7 separate regions of the Homo sapiens genome follow, and all the other regions are linked to region 7. The links are contacts of gene promoters, found by promoter capture Hi-C in blood cells and fetal thymus (Javierre and others, 2016). All regions are on one chromosome and are shown on one strand. The core of a region is centred on a gene start or on the middle of the fragment in contact, and the rest is flanking DNA. Distances in the headings are between cores, read along the strand shown. Region 1 holds the start of SPAG7 (sperm associated antigen 7). Region 2 overlaps CYB5D2 (cytochrome b5 domain containing 2). Region 3 holds the start of GP1BA (glycoprotein Ib platelet subunit alpha). Region 4 overlaps KIF1C (kinesin family member 1C). Region 5 holds the start of SLC52A1 (solute carrier family 52 member 1). Region 6 overlaps ANKFY1 (ankyrin repeat and FYVE domain containing 1). Region 7 holds the start of GGT6 (gamma-glutamyltransferase 6).

Evidence for each region. Contacts are between HindIII fragments. The CHiCAGO score rates a contact against its expected background, and 5 or more counts as called.
Region 1: a contact is called between the fragment with the promoter of SPAG7 here and the fragment with the promoter of GGT6 in region 7, in 1 of 17 cell types (neutrophils). The highest score is 5.6, in neutrophils.
Region 2: a fragment that was not itself captured here is called in contact with the fragment with the promoter of GGT6 in region 7 in 1 of 17 cell types (M1 macrophages); the score reaches 5.6 in M1 macrophages.
Region 3: the fragment with the promoter of GP1BA here is called in contact with the fragment with the promoter of GGT6 in region 7 in 2 of 17 cell types (neutrophils and erythroblasts); the score reaches 8.9 in neutrophils.
Region 4: a fragment that was not itself captured here is called in contact with the fragment with the promoter of GGT6 in region 7 in 1 of 17 cell types (neutrophils); the score reaches 8.6 in neutrophils.
Region 5: the fragment with the promoter of SLC52A1 here is called in contact with the fragment with the promoter of GGT6 in region 7 in 6 of 17 cell types (neutrophils, monocytes, non-activated CD4 T cells and 3 more); the score reaches 12.7 in neutrophils.
Region 6: a fragment that was not itself captured here is called in contact with the fragment with the promoter of GGT6 in region 7 in 3 of 17 cell types (M0 macrophages, naive CD8 T cells and M1 macrophages); the score reaches 6.5 in M0 macrophages.

Annotation. Positions count from the first base shown.
Region 1 is chr17:4,966,515-4,969,214 of GRCh38, reverse strand. It overlaps SPAG7 (sperm associated antigen 7), which reads left to right and starts at 1,398. Exons shown (of 7, transcript NM_004890.3): 1 at 1,398-1,495. The coding sequence starts at 1,411. CAMTA2 (calmodulin binding transcription activator 2) reads left to right here. Exons shown (of 23, transcript NM_015099.4): 21 at 1-65; 22 at 234-308; 23 at 396-1,218. The coding sequence ends at 459. It overlaps LOC124900387 (a long non-coding RNA gene), which reads left to right and starts at 1,502. Exons shown (of 2, transcript XR_007065587.1): 1 at 1,502-2,700. RefSeq lists enhancers at 1-320, 1-353, 321-998, 999-1,675, 1,263-1,762 and 1 more and a silencer at 1,173-1,252. The HindIII fragment of the contact is 6,795 bases long and covers 1-2,700 here.
Region 2 is chr17:4,156,294-4,158,993 of GRCh38, reverse strand. CYB5D2 (cytochrome b5 domain containing 2) reads right to left here. Exons shown (of 4, transcript NM_144611.4): 4 at 1,297-2,128. The coding sequence ends at 1,912. Among named protein-coding and RNA genes, the nearest start is that of CYB5D2, 14 kb to the right of the region's middle. The HindIII fragment of the contact is 188 bases long and covers 1,322-1,509 here.
Region 3 is chr17:4,931,002-4,933,701 of GRCh38, reverse strand. It overlaps GP1BA (glycoprotein Ib platelet subunit alpha), which reads right to left and starts at 1,425. Exons shown (of 2, transcript NM_000173.7): 1 at 1,337-1,425; 2 at 1-1,103. The coding sequence starts at 1,097. The HindIII fragment of the contact is 9,310 bases long and covers 1-2,700 here.
Region 4 is chr17:5,013,895-5,016,666 of GRCh38, reverse strand. It overlaps KIF1C (kinesin family member 1C), which reads right to left. Exons shown (of 23, transcript NM_006612.6): 18 at 1,830-1,924. Among named protein-coding and RNA genes, the nearest start is that of KIF1C-AS1, 4.8 kb to the left of the region's middle. The HindIII fragment of the contact is 9,804 bases long and covers 1-2,772 here.
Region 5 is chr17:5,033,993-5,036,692 of GRCh38, reverse strand. It overlaps SLC52A1 (solute carrier family 52 member 1), which reads left to right and starts at 1,267. Exons shown (of 5, transcript NM_017986.4): 1 at 1,267-1,832; 2 at 1,980-2,216; 3 at 2,335-2,700. The coding sequence starts at 2,087. The region is part of intron 3 of LOC105371501 (a long non-coding RNA gene); the gene reads right to left. The HindIII fragment of the contact is 18,376 bases long and covers 1-2,700 here.
Region 6 is chr17:4,195,988-4,198,687 of GRCh38, reverse strand. It overlaps ANKFY1 (ankyrin repeat and FYVE domain containing 1), which reads left to right. Exons shown (of 25, transcript NM_001330063.2): 8 at 1,111-1,315. Among named protein-coding and RNA genes, the nearest start is that of CYB5D2, 54 kb to the right of the region's middle. The HindIII fragment of the contact is 8,607 bases long and covers 1-2,700 here.
Region 7 is chr17:4,559,150-4,561,849 of GRCh38, reverse strand. It overlaps GGT6 (gamma-glutamyltransferase 6), which reads left to right and starts at 1,273. Exons shown (of 4, transcript NM_001288702.2): 1 at 1,273-1,468; 2 at 2,090-2,292; 3 at 2,394-2,507. The coding sequence starts at 1,329. The HindIII fragment of the contact is 2,996 bases long and covers 1-1,386 here.

The DNA of each region.
Region 1 (2,700 bases), core at 149-2,648, 410 kb before region 7:
CGCTCCTACCGCCGCAGGCCCGGCCCTCCCCACCGGACTTCGGCCACCCTGCCTGCCCGCAACAAGTAGGGCCCAGCCCCAGCCCTCTGTGCCCACCCACTGCATCCACGCCATTCCCCCTTACTCATCCTCTTGATCATCATGCCTCACTGCCATTCCCTGCCTAGGGTTCCTGGGGGGGCCGAAGGCATGCGATGCCTTCTGTGAGGTCCATCTTTTGTTTCTTTCACCAGAGGCTCCTTTCTCACCAAGAAGCAGGACCAGGCAGCCCGGAAGATCATGAGATTCCTGCGGCGCTGCCGACACAGGTACTCATCCCTTCTCCCCCTGGGCTTTTGCGTTGCCACCCGTCGTGATCCGCCAGTCTCCTCTGACTCCTATCTTTCTCTCTGCAGGATGAGGGAACTGAAGCAGAACCAGGAGCTGGAAGGGCTTCCCCAGCCGGGACTGGCCACATGACCTGGCCACCGCCTTTCTCACCACCCTGGGGGCGCCTCGTGCAGTCTTAACAGGGAGAGGGCTTTCTGGGGCAGGGGGAGCCCCTGTCGGCAGCTTTCCTGTTCACCTTTGTTGGAGCCCTCTGTAGGCCTCCTCCCTCCTCCCCACGCCTTGCTCCCACACCCCTCTCCTCGTCCCTCCTGGTCGTGCCCCGTCTCTTTTGGTCCTGGCTCCAGAAAACCCGCGCCCCACATACCTGCATCTTCCGCTGTGACCTCCGGAGCCCTGCCTGCCCCTGCTCCCCAGCTCCTCCTGCCTGCACCCGACTCGGCCCCCTCCTGACTTGCCTTATTTATTTGTTCGACGCGTCTCTGAATGTATCCGCCTCGGTTCCCACCACTGCCTTCGCTGCGCACGCCCCTCGTGTTTCAGGGCTGACCGTGTCCCCACCCGACTCCGCATGTTTGCGTCTGTTTCCTCCCTCTCTGGCCCTGTCTTACCCCATCACCCGACTCTGGCCACTGACCTCAGGGCCGAAGGGGAGGTGGTGTACATAGGAACGCGTTGCGGAGTCCGCCCCGTCCCCCGAGGGGAGGGGTCTTGTACATACTGTAACATACAGAGTATAGTGAAGAATCTATTTAAGGCGCCGCGGGGAGGGCTGCACGGCCGGGCTTGTGGTTCTCTAGCGCGGCGGGGGCCTCCTGCCGGCTCCACGGGCACTTTCTACTTGTGCATGGGCTTGGTTTATACGAATTGCCATTAAACATCGCTGCACCAGCCAGCCTCCGGCCTCTGTCTGCGGGGGCGGGGCGGGGCCTAGGCCAGCTGGAGGCCGCCATGCACCGCGGGCCTGGGATCTGCGCCCAGGCCAGGCGGGCCCAGGGTTTTCCGCCTCCGACGTGTTTCCGGCCTTAAAGGCATTCCGCCCTTCCCTTTAAGACGCACCGCCCCCTCTCAGTCACTCCCAAGATGGCGGACCTACTGGGCTCCATCCTGAGCTCCATGGAGAAGCCACCCAGCCTCGGTGACCAGGAGACTCGGCGCAAGGCCCGAGGTGAGGATCCCAAATTCACAACCGCCTTCCTTCGCCCGGTTCTCGGGACCATACTTCTCCCTCTTTGGACGATGCCGCCTCCTCAACCTTGAAAGACCCCTCACAGGCCCCTTCCGAGACCCTCAGAGTCCCTAAAAGGGCTGCTGACACGCCCGCTGTTCTTAGCGGACAGTGATTGGCTACCTGAAAGATAGCGCCAGCCTCCTGCCTCTTCTCCCGACCCTGGCCTTCCGCAGTCCTTGTTTCCCATTAGCCGGCCGTCCCGCCTGTCCGCTGCTGACCTGGTCTGATTGGTAGGGTGCCTCCAACCTGCCGCATTCCTGCCCCGCTCACCTCTAGCTCTATTTCGATTGGATTTAGGACACGCCATCTACTGTGCCTTCATCTCTATTGGCTATCTCAACTTAAAGCTCTGCCTCCTCAGGCCTGTTCGACCTTCCTTCGAAACCACCCCAGCCTGCGAATTCCCATTGGTTGCAGGGTCCTCTGTGTGTTCTTGCCCCTCCTGCTTAATTTAACCCAGTCCCTTCTGCCTCCCTCCGACAACCTTTTTCCCATCCGTAGCCTTAAATTCCCGAGCTGCCCGGGCGGATCGTAGTGTTGATTGGAGGGATGAGAATACCCGCCGGGTCCGATTGGCCACTGTCTCCGCCTGCGTTCTCGGAGTAGCTTCCCTGCGGGTGGGCTGGAGTTCGGCGGCCGGCGTAGGGCGCGGCCCTGCAGGGCGGTGGGAGCCTCCCCGGGGCTGCTCGTGTTGCAGCTTGGGATGATACTGGCGGAACGCAGGACCCCAACTCCCAAACCTGCGGACCTTGACCACGGACGAGCCCTGTCCCAGCTCCCCACGTGCCCCAGGGGGACCAGAGCAGGCAGGACGCCTTCCAAGTATTCAAGGGCCGCTGGTTGCCTACGCTTCGTCCCCTTGTTTCTTGAACAACCGTTAGGGACCAGGGGTACCCCTCAGGGAGGCCACAGTCCGGGGCTGGGGCGCTCATTGATGCAGTGATCACACGTAAGTTTAATAACCAACTTGATAAGTGCTCTGAGAGAAAAATAACTGTGAGAGCGGCCACCTGAGGTTCTCCCCCAATCTGCAGTGAGCCGAGATCAGAACAGGTAATTCCGTAAATGAGAGAGAGAAGCAAAGCGTTACAGGCAGAAGAGTCTATTTGAAATCTCTGAGAAAGGAGGAAGCATGATGGGAA
Region 2 (2,700 bases), core at 166-2,665, 400 kb after region 7:
CAAAAAAAAAAAAAGAAAGAAAGAAAGAAAGAAAGACGGCTCCCAGCAGTGTGGAGGAGGGATTGGAGGGAGGGAGTACAGTTAGGATCCTTCAGTAATCCAAGTGAGAAATGACAGCCTAGGCCAGAGGAAGAGTACTAGGGACAGATAAGAGGGAAGGAAAGGGAGAGAATGAGGGAGGCAGAGGTCCCAGGACCTGCAGGCGGGTTAGGAGGAGGGAAGGGAGGATGGAGTGTGGACGGCTGCTCGGATGCTGACTCTGCGTGTAGCTGGTGGTGCCATTCCCTTGGAGAACTAGAAGCAGCATGGGAGGGGAAGGTGAAATGCTCTGCAAAGCTGCCTGGAGTAGACGTGCAGGTTTGACGGTCTAAGTAACTGTCGGATTTGGAGTGAGAGGAGCCAATGGGAAGGGGTTTGTGGAGGCAAAACGGGGTTCTCAAGGCAATTAAGAAGGAATGGGCAGAGGCAAAAAGGGAAGCAGGATAAAGCCCAGCGAGGGTTTCATGGAGGACCCCACGGTCCACAGTATCCAGAGTGACAAAGCCTAGGTAAGAACTGGATGTGACCACGGAATGTGCCAATGCAGAATTTCTCCTGATTTTTAGAGCAAATGGAGCTGAAAAGCAAAGCTAGTGAGTATAAGCCAAAACTGGAGTTGAGGGAATGTTTATGATGTGAGAGAAGTGAGCTGTTTGATGCATACCTGGGGGAAGATCCAGGAGACGGGGAGAGGTTAAAGGTACAAGAGGGGCAGGTGAGGAGGATGGCGGGGGCAGGCAAAAGGAGCCATGAGCCAGAGCCCAAGTGTAAGGAACAGCTGTGGCCATAGGGGCAATAAGCCCGGGTCTGCCAGTGAGGGGACAGGGGCAGTGAGCACGGGTCTGCCAGTGAGGGGACAGGGGCAGTGAGCACGGGTCTGCCAGTGAAGGGGACAGGGGCAGTGAGTACGGGTCTGCCAGTGAAGGGGAGGCAGCCTCCATTTTCTAGTCTGTGAATCTGGAAAGCGATTTAGTGAAATGAATGATGGAGAAAAAGGAGACAGTGACAGAGAGGGAGGAAGCTGGTGGATGTTGAGGGTGAGACTGAGCGGCAAAGGGAGCTGGGTGGAAGCTCTGATGAGGCGATGCACAGAGGCCGTGGCGCTGTCTGTGGTAGTGCTGGTCCCACTTCTCTGTCTGAAGTAGGAACACTCCTTGCCCCCATCTACCTTCACAAGTAGTCAAGAGGTAACAGGTATGACATTGCCAGATGACGCTGGACATACAAACCACTGGACAAGCAGCAAGCCCAGCCACCTTAAGTTTGAAGCCTTGCCCAAGCTTTAATGTCATGCTAACCAGTTACCTTGTTAGAGCTGGGAAGCCACCTTTTGCTCAAAATGCAGACTTCTGCCTTTGAAAACACACCACACCTGATTTTAAGTGCTTAAAGGACAGAAAATGTCGTTGCTTTAAATTGTTGCTTTGTTCAGAGACATCTGGATTTGCTGTATCCATACAAGCAAAAGCTTTTCCAATTCCAGAATCAACCCACACTAATTTGTTATTGCCTCGTACTGTATTGGCCCAGCTGTAATCAACTCAGCAGGCTTTTGGTTGTAAATTCAAGTGGAAATTGAGTTGGTCTTATTTGTGCCCGTTGATATCTGAGGGCTGTGAGGAAGATGGCCAGTAGGTCAAAGGGAATAGTGTTGAAAAGCTGACCAGTACTGGGCAGGTGGCCGGCTGTCCCTCAGGCACCACAACGCCGAGCCACGGTAAGGGGCATGAGCCACATTTGCAGAATATAGCCAGAGTCCTTCCAGACCCTCCTGATTCGCGCCAGGAGGCATCCCAGGGCACACAAGTGTCAAGGGCCTACTCAGGTGCTTGGCAGAGCTCTCTGTGTGTTATTAACAGAAGAGGCTACGGCTTAGAGTGGAAAGGAGCATGTGATGGCTAGCGGTGGGCAGCCTGTGTACTCTGCCAAGTTTGGGTGGTCCAGGTCCCCACGATTTCTGTGTGGAGGGTTGTCCGGCATCTGGCCACTAGGGGGGCCGGTGGTTCTCACACACACGCAGCGGGGCTCCTTAGCACCTGGCTTATACAGCTTCCTGGGGACGCCAATCCAGTCTCTGCTCACACCTCCACTAAGGATAGACGGAAAGAGGACTTCTTAAATGTGAGAACTCATGAGTCTCTGGGAAGGGGAGAGCAGGAAGCAGAGAGCCAGGCCTTCTGAAAAGTAGAAGCCTACCAGAGTGTTTCCCAAGGCAGCAGGCTACAGCGCTCAGCCCCTGAGCCTTCATGCTCTCTCCTAACATCCTCCAGCTTCCCCTGCAGGGCCACCACCACCTTCCCCAGGCCAAGGGCACAGTCCATGGTTCCTTTCACTGTGCTCCCCAGCCCCTGCCCTGCCCCTTCTTAGGAGGCAGCACCACGTTCCTGCACTGGTGGCAACAGCTGTGAAAGGGCTTCCCCTGCTGGCCTGTGAGCTTCTCAGAAGCAGTGTCTGGGTGCGACTGTCCTCTTCCTTCCCCACTACAACCCAGCGCAGGTCAGGGTCTTCACCTTCTTCTCTGGGGCACTTGGCTGGGGGTGGGCAATTGGGCCCTGGCCCTTGGCCACCTGGGTCGGCCTTCTCTGGGAAGCCCTTGGCATAGAGTGTAGCTGCAAGCTGTCCTGTGCCCCACAGGTCCAGTCCTTGATGGCACTAGGCTTC
Region 3 (2,700 bases), core at 176-2,675, 370 kb before region 7:
TGAAGTGTGAAATTTGGGGTCCATCTAGGTGGGAATGTGGTCTGCTCCTTAGTGGATTCTTGTGTTGGATGCAAGGAGGAGGGCATTTGGCTGTCTAGAGAAGCAGTGGACCATGAGTAGAATAGACCCCAGGGGGTTGTATGGGCTTTGGTGGGGAACTTGACCACAGTCCTTGTGGCACGCACCTTATCGCCCTCAGTGTCCTCTTCTGGGTAGTAATCATATAGGTCTGTGTCACCTTCATCACCAAGGGTGGGGCACCCCTTTCCTGGGTATTTGTAGACGGGAAACTTGTCTGAATTGTCACACTGCACACTGGCCACGTTAGAGGTCATGGCCTTGACGTCCACACCTTGCTTCCATACGTAGACATTTTCAGCATTGTCCTGCAGCCAGCGACGAAAATAGAGGATCTCACAGTTGCATAACCAGGGGTTCCCGTGGAGAAAAGCAAAAGGCAGGAGGTGGGACCCAAAAAAGCCCTTTGGTATTGTATACAGCGAGTTCTCTTGGAGGAGAAGGGTGTCGAGATTCTCCAGCCCATTCAGGAGCCCAGCGGGGAGCTCAGTCAAGTTGTTGTTAGCCAGACTGAGCTTCTCCAGCTTGGGTGTGGGCGTCAGGAGCCCTGGGGGCAGGGTCTTCAGCTCATTGCCTTTCAGGTAGAGCTCTTGGAGTTCGCCAAGACCACGCAGGGCACCAAGAGGCAGCGAGGTCAGCCGGTTGAAGGAGACGTCCAGGACGGTGAGAGCAGGCAGTGTCTGCCCTAGCAAGGGCAGGCTTTGCAGCTGATTGTGGGATAGATCCAGGGTCCCCAGCACTGGCAGCGTCCCATCGACCTGGAGCTTGGTGAGCTCGCACCTATCTAGGTTCAGCTGAGTGAGGCGAGTGTAAGGCATCAGGGTTGCCAGGGAGAAGGTGTACAGGAGGTTCTCACTCAGGTGGAGGATGGTTGTGTCTTTCGGCAGGTCTGGAGGCAGCGCTGTCAGATTCCTCTTGTCACAGTTCACTTCTAGGTGGCTGGCCACTTTGGAGACCTCACAGATGGGGTGGGGGTGTAAGGGGCTTGGCAGCAGGAGCAGCAAGAGGAGGAGAGGCATGAGGACCTGTGGGCAAGGGAGCCTTGAGTGGATCCCCCTGCATCCCCTGGAAGCATCCCCCCAGGCCCCAGCCCCCTTCCCCCTGCAGCTTCGCTTCCAGAAACAGCATCCACACCTCCTGTCCTCCCTACTCCCATCTCCCACCCTTGCCTGCAGAACTTAAAACTACTAGCTCCAGGTCCTTGGCTCTTTCCCCTCCCTCAGACCCCTCTCCTGCCCCAGCACCAACCCCGGCTTACAGGCAGGCAGAAAGACCTCCGAAGGCACAGAGCGTCTTCTAGGGTGCCACTCGACTCCGTCCTTCTCTCTTCTAGCCCCATGGAGGACTAAGCCAGTGGCAAGGAAGGGGATGGGGGTGAGGAGGAAATGCAGGCCTGATAGGGATTCCAGTGACCGGGAATCCCCTGGACACAAGCCCTTATCGCCTCACTCCACGGCTTTCCCCCAGGCCCTCTTTGTGGTTCTCTCTTCCGCTTTCCTTTTACACAGGGGAGATGGGGGTGGACTCCTCCAAACAGCCTTCTGCCATCTTTTAAAAACCTCTCCAGGGCCGGGCGCGTGGCTCATGCCTGTAATCCCAGAACTTTGGGAGGCTGAGGCGGGCGGATCACCTGAAGTCAGGAGTTCGAGACCAGCCTGACCAACACGGGGAAACCCTGTCTCTACTAAAAATACATTAGCCAGGCGTGGTGGCGCATGCCTGTAATCCCAGCTACTCGGGAGGCTGAGGCAGGAGAATCGCTTGAAACCGGGAGGTGGAAAGAGGTTGCGGTGAGCCGAGATCGTGCCATTGTACTCCAGCCTGGGTGACAAGAGCAAAACTCCATCTTAAAAACAAAAAAACCTCTCCAGATGCCCGCTTCTCTTCCTCTTCACAGCTGCATTCTGAGAGTTGCCTACTTTTAATTCTCTCCCACCTTTCTCTCTGCCTTCTCACCCCAGTCTATGCTGATTTCTTTCCCCTGCTACTCCATTGACTCGGTTCTTACCAAGGTCTTTAATGCTCTCCCTCCTCTACATCCATGGGAAACTTCTCCACTGTGATCTTACTTTATTTCGGCAGCCTGCATACCCATGGCCACTCGCCCCTTGGGATTCTCCTTTTGGCCTCTGTGACACATGACCCTGTAATTTTCTTGGTTTTCTTCTTACCTGTTTGGTTGGGCCTTCTCAGTCTCCTTCATAGATTCCCCTTCTTGAACAATTAAACTGCCCCCAGAGTTTGTGCTTAGGCTGTCTTCATTCCCAGCTAATTTTTATATTTTTAGTAGAGACGGGGTTTCACCATGTTGGTCAGCCTGGTCTCGAACTCCTCATCTCAAGTGATCCACCCACATTGGCTTCCCGAAGTGCTGGGATTAGAGGCATGAGCCACCGCGCCCGGCATTCTCTTCTTTTCTTACGCTATGCAACCACCTGAGATTATCCTCATCCATTCCCTTGCCTTCAACCACCACCTACAACCTAATGACTCTCAAATCTATGTCTCTAGTCCAGACCCTTCTCCTGAGACACAAGCACATATGTCCAGCTGCCTTCTGGACATCTCTACTTGGATGTCCCACAGACACCAAAACAATATGTTCAAAGCTGAACTCACCAT
Region 4 (2,772 bases), core at 273-2,772, 450 kb before region 7:
CTCCCAAAGTGCTAAGATTACAGGCATGAGCCACCCCACCAGCCCCAAGAGGTATGTCTTAAACCTCACTGTAAGACGCACATGATAGCGTCTTTTGTTATTTTTTAAAATGTGCTGGCCGGGTGCGGTGGCTCACGCCTGTAATCCTGGCACTTTGGGAGGCCGAGGCAGGTGGATCACAAGGTCAGGAGTTCAAGACTAGCCTGACCAACATGGTGAAACCCTGTCTCTACTAAAAATACAAAAATTAGGGCTGGGTGTGGTGGCTCAAGCCTGTAATCCCAGCACCTTGGGAGGTCAAGGCAGGAGGATCACCTGAGGTTGGGAGTTGGAGAAACCCTGTTTCTACTAAAAATACAAAATTAGCCGGGTGTGGTGGCGCACACCTGTAGTCCCAGCTACTCGGGAGGCTGAGGCAGGAGAATTACTTGAACCCGGGAGGCAGAGGTTGCAGTGAGTCGAGATCGCACCACTGCACTCCAGCCTGGACGACACAGCGAGACTCCATCTCAAAAAAAAAAAAAAAGTGCTGACCATACACACCCCAGGTCCCTTGTCCCCTGGAAGGTGTTAGGCCAAGCACTCCTAGGTCTCTGAGGCACAACACACACACCAGGTCCAAGCTGACAGACAGCACATGTGTACCACGTCCTTCCTCCCTGCCCAACTCATTTTCACAGAGACTTTGCTTGAGCTTATGTGAACCCAAATCATTCTATTTTTTTTTAAGTGTTAGAACTAAAACAAACTGGTGGCCTCAAAAATACACCTCAGCAGGTGCAGTGGCTCACGCCTGTAATCCCAGTGCTTTGGGAGGCCAAGGTGGGCGGATCACATGAGATCAGGAGTTCAAGACCAGTCTGACCAACATGGTGAAACCCCGTCTCTACTAAAAATACAAAAATTAGCCTGGTGTGGTGGCGCGTGCCTGTAATCCCAGCTACTCGGGGTTGAGGCAAGAGAATCACTTGAACCTGGGAGGTGGGGGCTGCAGTGAGCCAAGATCATGCCACTGCACTCCAGCCTGGGGGAAACAGTGAGACTCCGTCTCAAATGATAAAAAAAAAAAAAAAAAAAAAAAAAAGCTGGGGGCAGTGGCTCACGCCTGTAATCCCAGCACTTCGGAAGGCCGAGGCAGGCGGATCACCTGAGGTCAGGAGTTCGAGACCAGCCTGACCAACATGGGAGAAACCCCGTCTCTACTAAAAACACAAAATTAGCCAGGCATGGTGGCACATGCTTGTAATCCCGGCTACTCGGGAGGCTGAGGCAGGAGAATTGCTTGAACCCGGGAGGTTGAGGCTGCAGTGAGCCCAGATCGCGCCATTGCACTCCAGCCTGGGCGACAAGAGCGAACACTCCGTCTCAAAAAAAAAAGAAAAAGAAAAAGAAAAAGAAAAAGAAATCTCGGCAGTCATAGCTGGATAGAGGCAGGTTTTCCACAGGGACAAGTTCCGATATTCAAATACAGGTTTTTGTTTAAAAAGGATCAGAGTGCTAGTTGTGGTGAACAAGATCAAGAAGGGCAGGATCTTCTCTTCAGCAAAATCCCACACTCTGGCTCACTAGTGTCCCATTTCTACCTTAGAACCCTCGCCAGTGCCTGACCACACAGTAGTCTGTCTTCTCAGGGTGGGTGCAGAGGGCTGGGCCTGTGGTATTCCTCCATTCATACCCATGAGCCCCAAGCCCCTCTGAGGACAAGGCCACATCCCCTCTTTATATGGCTGCACTCCCTGGTGCCCAACCCAGACCTCTGAGTTCAGTGTGTGGGGTGGAACATGGGGCCTCTCTCCCTGTCTGGCCTCTCTCACCCCCTCAGCCATTACCTTCTCCATCTGGCTGGGGGATGCTCCGGAACAGACAGTGTTGCTCCCGAATGAACTGTCCGGTCAGCTTGATGTCCATATCTACTTGGCCGACCCTGGGGAAGCAATGGCCAACGTTTGTGAGCATGTGCCAGACTTTAACCAAGCCCCTCCTGAACACCAGTTTATCCAACTCAATGAACCAAGCCAATTATTCCCATTTCACAGATGAGGAAGCAGAGGCTCAGGGAGGTGAAATGGCTTGCCCGGGTTCATTCAGTGGGCAGTGAAGTGATGCTGGGATCTGAGCCCAGGTCTGCCTGACTCTGAAGCCATGCTCTTAGTCACCATGTTATACAGCAGGCTCGCCAACTTCTCTTGAAGCTGGGAGAGCATGCAGGGCTGTGGAGGCAGCTGTTTAGAGATCTGAGTTATCTCCAGGGACCACCAGGGAAGGGAGGCACCAATGTGGCTAACCCTCAGCAGCCATACCCCAAAAGCAGAGGCTGCCCCCCGGGCCACTGGGTACATGCTACCTGGGTACAAGCAAACCTGGGAGAAACGGGCACCCTCAGCCACAGGCCTCCACCCATCCTTAGGTTGATGATCCTGAGAGCTCACTCCCTACCCAAGATGACTACCAAGGACAGCCACGAATGCCTGTGGTGGGAGGGGAAGGGCACCCTCACCCCTTTAGGGGAGGCACCGAGCCCCCATGACTTCATAATACCAGCCCAAGGAGCCACATGCCCTTAGCTGCCCAGCCCTCAACCGCACAGACCAGGCCGTGTTTCCCTTCTCCCGCCCCCAGGGAAGGCCCCACCAAGGGAGGCCAAGGCAATGGCATCAGGGTCTAAGAATGAGGGGGTCTATGTTTCCCAACTCTCCTGCCCCAGTAAACAAGGTTGTCTCGCCCTAACCAAACTGGCAGGTGGAGGCAAGACAGCCACTGAGCAGGCACGCT
Region 5 (2,700 bases), core at 18-2,517, 470 kb before region 7:
CGCCTGTAATCCCAGCACTTTGGGAGGCTGAGGCGGGCGGATCACCTGAGGTCAGGAGTTCGAGACGAGCCTGGCCAATATGGTGAAACCCCATCTCTACGAAAAATACAAAAATTATCCAGGCGTGGTGGCAGGCGTCTGTAATCCCAGCTACTCGGGAGTCTGAGGCAGGAGAATGGCGTGAACCTGGAAGGTGGAGCTTGCAGTGAGCCGAGATCGCGCCACTGCACTCCAGCCTGGGCGACAGAGCGAGACTCCGTCTCAAAAAAAAAAAAAAAAAAAAAAAAAAGCAAAAATTAGCCAGGTGTGCACACCACGTCCAGCTAATTTTTTTTCAACCATTTAAAAGTGTAAAAACAGCTGGCCAGGCACGGTGGCTCACGCCTGTAATCCCCAACACTTTGGGAGGCCGGGGCAGGTGGATCACCTGAGGTCAGGAGTTCAAGACCAGCCTAGCTAACATGGCGAGACCCTGTGCACTAAAAAGACAAAAATTAGCAGGGCATGGTGGTGGGCGCCTGTAATTCCAGCTACTCGGGAGGCTGAGGCAGGAGAATGGCTTGAACCCGGGAGGCAGAGGCTCGTGCCATTGCACTCCAGCCTGGGCAACAAGAGCAAAACTCCGTCTCAAAAAAAAAAAAAAAAAAAAAAAGTGTAAAAACAGCTGAGCGTGGCGGTAGCTAGGTGTGGTGCGTCTGTAGTCCCAGCTACTTGGGAGGCTGAGGTAGGAAGATTGCTTGAGCCCAGGAGTGCCAAGCCAGCCTGAGCAACATAGTGAGACCTTGTCTCTACCAAAAAAAAAAAAAAAAAAAAAAAAAATTAGCTGGACATGGTGATGCTCGCCTGTGGTCCCAGCTACTTGTGGGGGGGTGGGGAGAGGCTGAGTGGGAGGATCCCTTGAGCTTGGGAGGTTGAGGCTGTAGTGAGCCGCGATCGCGCACCGCTGCGCTCTAGCCTGGGTGACAGAGTGAGACCCCGTCTCAAAATTAATTAATTAATTAAAACAACAAACAACAAAACCCCAGCTGTGTGGGCTCTGGGCTGGGCCGCCTCCCCGGCGGAGGGGGCTCCCTCTCAGGCAGACCGCCAGCCGCTGGGTCCGGGGACTGCCGGATCCGGAGGTGCGGGGACCCCTGCGCACCTGGCGGCTCCCGGGATGCCCCCCTGAGGCAGGCGGGAGGGCAGCACGGAGACGCCCCTCCGGGCAGAGCCCGCCCCAGCCACTCCCCTCTCCAACTCGACCTGCCTCAGCAAGTCCTGAGTGTCGCAAAAGCGCTAGGGTTGCAAGTGGCACCAGAGACGTGCCCTTGTCCCGGGGTCCATTTGAGGGTGAGCGTGTTGGTGCCGAGCTGTTTTTTTGTTTTGTTTTGTTTTGTTTTGTTTTTGAGACCGAATCTCGTTCTGTCGCCCAGGCTGGAATGCAGTGGTGTGATCTTGGCTCACTGCAACCTCCACCTTCCGGGTTCAAGTGAATCTCCTGCCTCAGCCTCCTGAGTAGCTGGGATTACTGGCACCCACCACCACGACCAGCTAATTTTTGTATTTTTAGTAGAGACGGGTTTTCACCATGTTGGCCAGGATGGTCTCAATCTCCTGACCTCAGGCGATCTGCCTTCCTCAGCTTCCCAAAGTGCTGGGATTACAGGTGTGAGCCACCGCACCCGGCCAGTGCTGAGCTGTTTTGACAACTTGGACCCCGGGTCCTCTGTGGGTAGGAAAATCAGCTCCCTCTTTGCTCCTCTGGGGCAGCTGCACCTCGGGCCAGCTTTCTGCCTGTCTGCCTGCCGGCACTGCTGGGTCGCTGTACCCAAACGCACAGCCGGTGCCCCGTGGTAAGTCCTGGCTCCCCACCTTCCCCGCCCGCCCCCGGCCACCTCTCCCTCCAGTTGCCCTGGTCTTAGCAGTCTGACCGACTTGTCTTCTGACTCCGGTTCTGTCCCACCAGCCTATTACCTGCCAGCCTGTCTGTTTCCCTCCAGCTAGAAGGTCTTCAGTTTCCAGAAGAACCAAAGCATCTTTGGACCTACCTAGGGAAGGACCTGCCTGTGACCTTTGCCCTGTCCTGGAGGGTCCAGCTTTGGGCTGAATGGCAGCACCCACGCTGGGCCGTCTGGTGCTGACCCACCTGCTGGTGGCCCTTTTTGGCATGGGCTCCTGGGCTGCTGTGAACGGGATCTGGGTGGAGCTGCCTGTGGTGGTAAAAGACCTTCCAGAGGGTGAGTGGGAGGGAGGTACAGGGAAGCGTGGGGCAGGTATGCCCAGAAAGGTGGCCTGTGGCAGCTCTTTGTCCCTTAGCCACTGTGCTCCTGACATGGCATCATTCCTTCCCTGCAGGTTGGAGCCTCCCCTCATACCTCTCTGTGGTTGTGGCGCTGGGAAACCTGGGTCTGCTGGTGGTGACCCTGTGGAGGCAGCTGGCCCCGGGCAAGGGCGAGCAGGTCCCCATCCAGGTGGTACAGGTGCTGAGTGTAGTGGGCACAGCCCTGCTGGCCCCTCTGTGGCACCACGTGGCCCCAGTGGCAGGGCAGCTCCACTCTGTGGCCTTCCTAACTCTGGCCTTGGTGTTGGCAATGGCCTGTTGTACCTCTAATGTCACTTTCCTGCCCTTCCTGAGCCACCTGCCACCTCCTTTCTTACGGTCTTTCTTCCTGGGTCAGGGTCTCAGTGCCCTACTCCCCTGTGTGCTGGCCCTAGTGCAAG
Region 6 (2,700 bases), core at 1-2,500, 360 kb after region 7:
TACAAAACTAAAAAGAGGCCGGGCACGGTGGCTCACATCTGTAATCCCAGCATTTTGGGAGGCCGAGGCAGGTGGTTTTCCTGAGCTCAGGAGTTTGAGACCAGCCTGTACATCATGGTGAAACCCCGTCCCTACTAAAATACAAAAAATTAGCCAGGTGTGGTGGCACATGCCTATAGTCCCAGCTGCTTGGGAGGCTGAGACATGAGAATTGCTTGAATTTCGGAGGCGGAAGTTGCAGTGAGCTGAGATTGCACCACGGCACTCCAGCCTGGGTGACAGAGCAAGGCTCTGTCTGAAAAAAAAAAAAATCTAAAAAGAAAATAAATTTTATAATAATAAAACAGACATGGGATTACTCTGAGTAGGAACGTGAATGCAAGTACAGCAGAATGGGGGTAGGTGTTGCTTAGTTAGGTACAAGCTGTGGTCAGGAAATAAGAAAGAAAGAGAAAGAGAGAGAGAAATTGTGTAGGGAGGGATCCTGGAAACCCTTCTGAGAGATGACCGAAGGAGGCCTTTGAAGAGTAGAAGCCTAGTGTTCTTTTTTTTTTTTTTAAGACGGAGTTTTGCTCTTAATCCCCAGGCTGGAGTGCAATGATGTGGTCTCAGCTCACCGCAACCTCCACCCCCTGGGTTCAAGCGAATCTCGTGCCTCAGCCTCCCAAGTAGCTGGGATTACAGGCGTGCACCACCACGCCCGGCTAGTTTTGTATTTGTAGTAGAGACGGGGTTTTTCCCTGTTGGTCAGGCTGGTCTCCAACTCCCGACCCCAGGTGATCCGCCCACCTCGGCCTCCCAAAGTGTTGGGACGACAGGCATGAGCCACTGCGCCTGGCCCAGCCTAGTATTCTTAAACAGTGAAAGGATACTGAGGTGAGGAGGCAGGACAAGTGGTAACAGGTAACCAAAAATTGAGCAGAGCCTTTTGAATTCGTCTGTAACTCCATGATCTCAATGAGTTTCCACTTACAGATGCCCCAAGAGGTTCCTTCAGACACATCTAGTTATCGCTCTCCTTTGTCTGCAGTCATTTTCTGCTCCCTCTTGAAGAAGCACTGGCCAGAATACTTTGCCCTGACACTGTTTCTTCTATTATTTCTTTTCAAGGAGATCTCTTTGCTGCCACTTTCCTCATTAAGAATGGGGCCTTTGTCAACGCTGCTACACTGGGTGCCCAGGAGACACCACTGCACCTTGTGGCCTTGTACAGTTCAAAGAAACACTCAGCAGATGTGATGTCTGAGATGGCGCAGATTGCAGAGGCCCTTCTGCAGGCTGGTGCCAACCCCAACATGCAGGACAGCAAGGGGAGGTAAGCTGGGGAGCAGACACTGTGCCCTTAGCACTGTTCTCAGAAGATATCTTACAGTAGCATGTAATTGGCATACGGGGAGTTCATGTTCTTTAGTTTGGCATTATTCAGTCTTATTTTCATTAAAGTCACAGACATCGATGTGTAGTAGTAGTGTCACTACTAAAACCAGAGGCATTTGGGGAAAACATTTCTATCCTGGGTAACTGAAGTCTTCGAGGTTTTTTTTGTGTGTTGTTTGTTTGTTTTTAATTGTGTCAGCATCTCACTCTGTCACCCAGGCTGGAGCGCAGTGGTATGATCTTGGCTCACTGCAGCCTCTACCTCCTGAGCACAGGTGATCCTCTCACCTCAGCCTCCTGAGTAGGTGAGACTACAGGCACACGCCACCCCACTTGGCTGATTTTTGTATTTTGGTGGAGACAGGGTTTTGCCATGTTGTCCAGGCTGGCCTCGAACTCCTGAGCTCAAGCAATCTGCCCACCTCGGTCTCCCAAAGTGCTGGGATTACGGGCGTGAGCCAGTTTTCGAGCTTTTAAGCAATTTGTATCTCATGTTTGAAGGAACCAGAGTGGTCATCTAGTCCAGTGCCTCCAAGGAAACCTTGTAGCATTTCTTAGAGTTGCTTGGATAGTTTGAAGAACTATTGAGGTCTAATTGTTAGAAAATTCTAATTGTTAGAAAATTCTCTATATTAAACCCAATTTTACCTTCTCGTAAACACTCCCACTTTATCTGCACAGCTTGCTACCTTTGTCCATAGCACGGCCCTTTGCATATTTAACAATATTTATTGTGTTCATTTTGCCCCTTTCCAGAAATAGTTGAGGATTCCTTGTGGTAGGATCTGAGAAAAGGCTACTTGTCTTGGGACAGTGGTGTGAGGGGCTGTGAAGGATAGTTAAGTCACCTGAATCACTGACCACAGTTGGGACCCGCTTGTCATTAGAACATTCTCAGTATTTTATACCTTTGAAAAACCTCTCAAAAAAAAGATTTTTTGTAAAGTTTGGTTGTCAGACAGGAGAATGTATTTATGTGATAGATAAGTACGTAAATAAGATGTAGCTTCATGAAATCTCAGTATCATGTGATAATTACCTTATTTCCTAAAATAATTGCATCCCTTTCCCTGCTGTTGATTCTTTCATTTTTTTCCTCCAACGGCAATAAACTCGCAGTGTGTGTGTGTGTGTGTGTGTGTGTGTGTGTGTGTGTGTGTGTGTGTAGTAGATGCAGCCTTGGGCTCTGACTCAAAGTGTGTGTTTTTGGGGGGAGGTGGGGGGCGGGGTAGGTGCAGCCTTGGGCCCTGACTCACTGTGTGGGTGGGGGGTGGTGGGGGGGGTGGGTGGGTAGGTGCAGCCTTGGGCCCTGACTCGGGGGTG
Region 7 (2,700 bases), core at 24-2,523:
CAACATCTCGGCCGGGCGCGGTGGCTCACACCCGTAATCCTAGTACTTTTGGGAGGCTGAGGCGGGCGGATCACCTGAGGTCAAGAGTTCAAGACCAGGCTGGCCAACATGGTGAAACCCTGTCTCTACTAAAAATACAAAAAATTAGCCAGGCGTGGTGGCATGTGCCTGTAATCCCAGCTACTCGGGAGGCTGAGGCAGAAGAATTGCTTGAACCCAGGAGGTGGAAGTTGCAGTGAGCTGAGATTGCACCATTGCACTCCAGCCTGGGCAACAAGAATGAAAACTCTGTCAAGAAAGAAAGAAGAGAAAGAAAAGAAAGGTAAAGGAAAAAGGAAAGGAAAGAAAGGAAGGAAAGAAAGGACATCTCCAGCATTCCAGAAACCCCCTGGTACCTCCTCCAGTCACTATCTGACTTCTAAGGGCAGACTGTTGTTGCTCTTTTGTTGTTGCCTGTTTGTGTACTTTGTGTAAATGAAAGCATATAGCGTGCGCTGTCTCCTGCCTGGCTGCTTTCCCTCGTCCTTATGCTTGTCAGACCTGTGTATATTATTGCATATAATTGTAGATCACTCACTCTCTTTGCTGCAGAGTGGTCCATTGTGACTTACATCATTCATTCTAACGATAATGGATGTTTGGGCACTTTCCAATTTGGGACTGTTACAAACAGCACTGTTTTGCAACAAGTCCTTGATGGGAATCCCAGAATGAATTTAGAAATGTTGGTTTCCAGGCTGTGGCGCTACCTTCTGGACAAGAGTCGCAAAACACGCACAGGGAGTTACGAACCAAGTTGCTCCTCAAAGAAACCCAGACCCAGAGTAGCCACAGGCTGAGCCTTGACCCCGGCCAGAGACCAGACACCCCTACGCCAGAACCTAGTCACGTGCAGACTCAAGCACGTGGGAGCTCTGACCCAAGCCACCGTGAAACCGTAGCTCTAATTCAAGTCCACAGTCCCTAGAGTCCCAGGTGGGTGGGATCCATGGGCTACATCCCCCAAGGGGAGGAGCCCAGCAGGTGCCCTGAGTATCAAGGTTGTGGCATTAAGGCTGAACTCCTTCTCGACCTCACTGAGCTGTGGCCCCTTACAGGCAGTCACCCCGGGAACCCTGTCGCGAGAGCTCCTCGGGCCTTGTGTCCTAATGGGGCAGGCTCACATGCAGCCTCCTTGGCCCCGTGCCCTGCCCAGACCTGTTCTGGATTCCACCCCCACCCTTCCCCAAGGTCGCTGCCACCTCCCACCTGCCAGGCTTGGGCAGGGCCTCTGAGACACAGCCGGAAAGGCTGGCAGGCAGGAGGGCTGGGGCGAGCACTGGGGGGCCATGGAGCGGGCAGAAGAGCCCGTGGTCTATCAGAAGCTGCTGCCCTGGGAGCCAAGCTTGGAGTCGGAGGAGGAAGTGGAGGAGGAGGAGACATCAGAGGCGCTGGTTCTAAACCCCCGGAGGCACCAGGACTCTTCCAGGTAAGTAAGGGAGGGGTCTGGGCACCAGGCTCCCCAGGCTTGAGGTTGGCAAGTCCCTCTCTCTGGAGCCCCTCAGGGGGACCAGGCGACTCCCCGCTGGGTTTAGCTCCAGGCACTGTACGGTCAATTTGGGGGAAAACCCAGGCTGTAGCCCGAGACTTGGCCTGACCCAATCAAAAGTCTGTGCATCTGGAGGGACATTTGTACCAAGCCAGCCTCTGTCCCATCTGCTGCTTTGTCAAAGGTCCCCAGCCCCCAAGTCCTGGTGCAGGAGGCACCTGCTGGGCAGGTTGGGGCCTGACTACGCCTGGCTGGGCCTGCTCCCCAGCCCCTTCTCTCCTGCCTGCCACACCCCACTGGGCCTCCCTCCCACCTGAGTGGACTCTGCCCCACCAATCTCCCCTCCAGAGGCTCCCTCCCTAGCTAGGCTCAGTTTCCCCAGATGCTTTCCCATCCCCATGTCTGCCCAAGATGCACCCGCTGCCAAGAAGCCCTTTCTCCTTGGCTGACTTGTGCTCCTCTTGCTAAATCAAACCTTTTGGGAAATATTCCCTGGGGTCTCTTGGGGTCCTTGGGCATCCCTCTGTCCCAGCCGTGGCTCAGGACACCCCCCCTCTGCAGGAACAAGGCTGGCGGGCTGCCCGGAACCTGGGCCCGTGTAGTGGCAGCCCTGCTGCTGCTGGCTGTTGGCTGCTCCCTGGCTGTGAGGCAGCTCCAGAATCAGGGCAGGTCGACAGGAAGCTTGGGCTCTGTGGCCCCTCCACCCGGCGGACACTCCCACGGCCCTGGCGTATACCACCACGGTGCCATCATCAGCCCTGCAGGTCAGTCAGTGCTGGGGGCGGCTTGGGGAGGGGAGGGTCAGGGGTCACCAGCCCAGCCTAGCCCCCCTCCTTGCTGCATGACAGTGCCTTCCTTGCTGCAGCCACATGCTCCCACCTAGGCCGAGAGCTGCTTGTTGCCGGGGGCAACGTCGTGGATGCTGGAGTTGGAGCTGCATTGTGCCTGGCAGTGGTGCATCCTCATGCCACGGGGCTAGGTCAGTGACCCCTGACCCCAGACTGCAACCCCAACCCACAGCCTGATCAGTGACCTGGAACTTAGGGAGTCAGTAGCACTGACCTCAAGACTGCTAAGTGAGCAGGACTTAGGGTTTGGGCAGCAGTCCAACCCCAGGCTATGACCCTTGAGCCCGGGTCTGTGGAACTTTGACCTCAGGCCTGGTCAGTAAC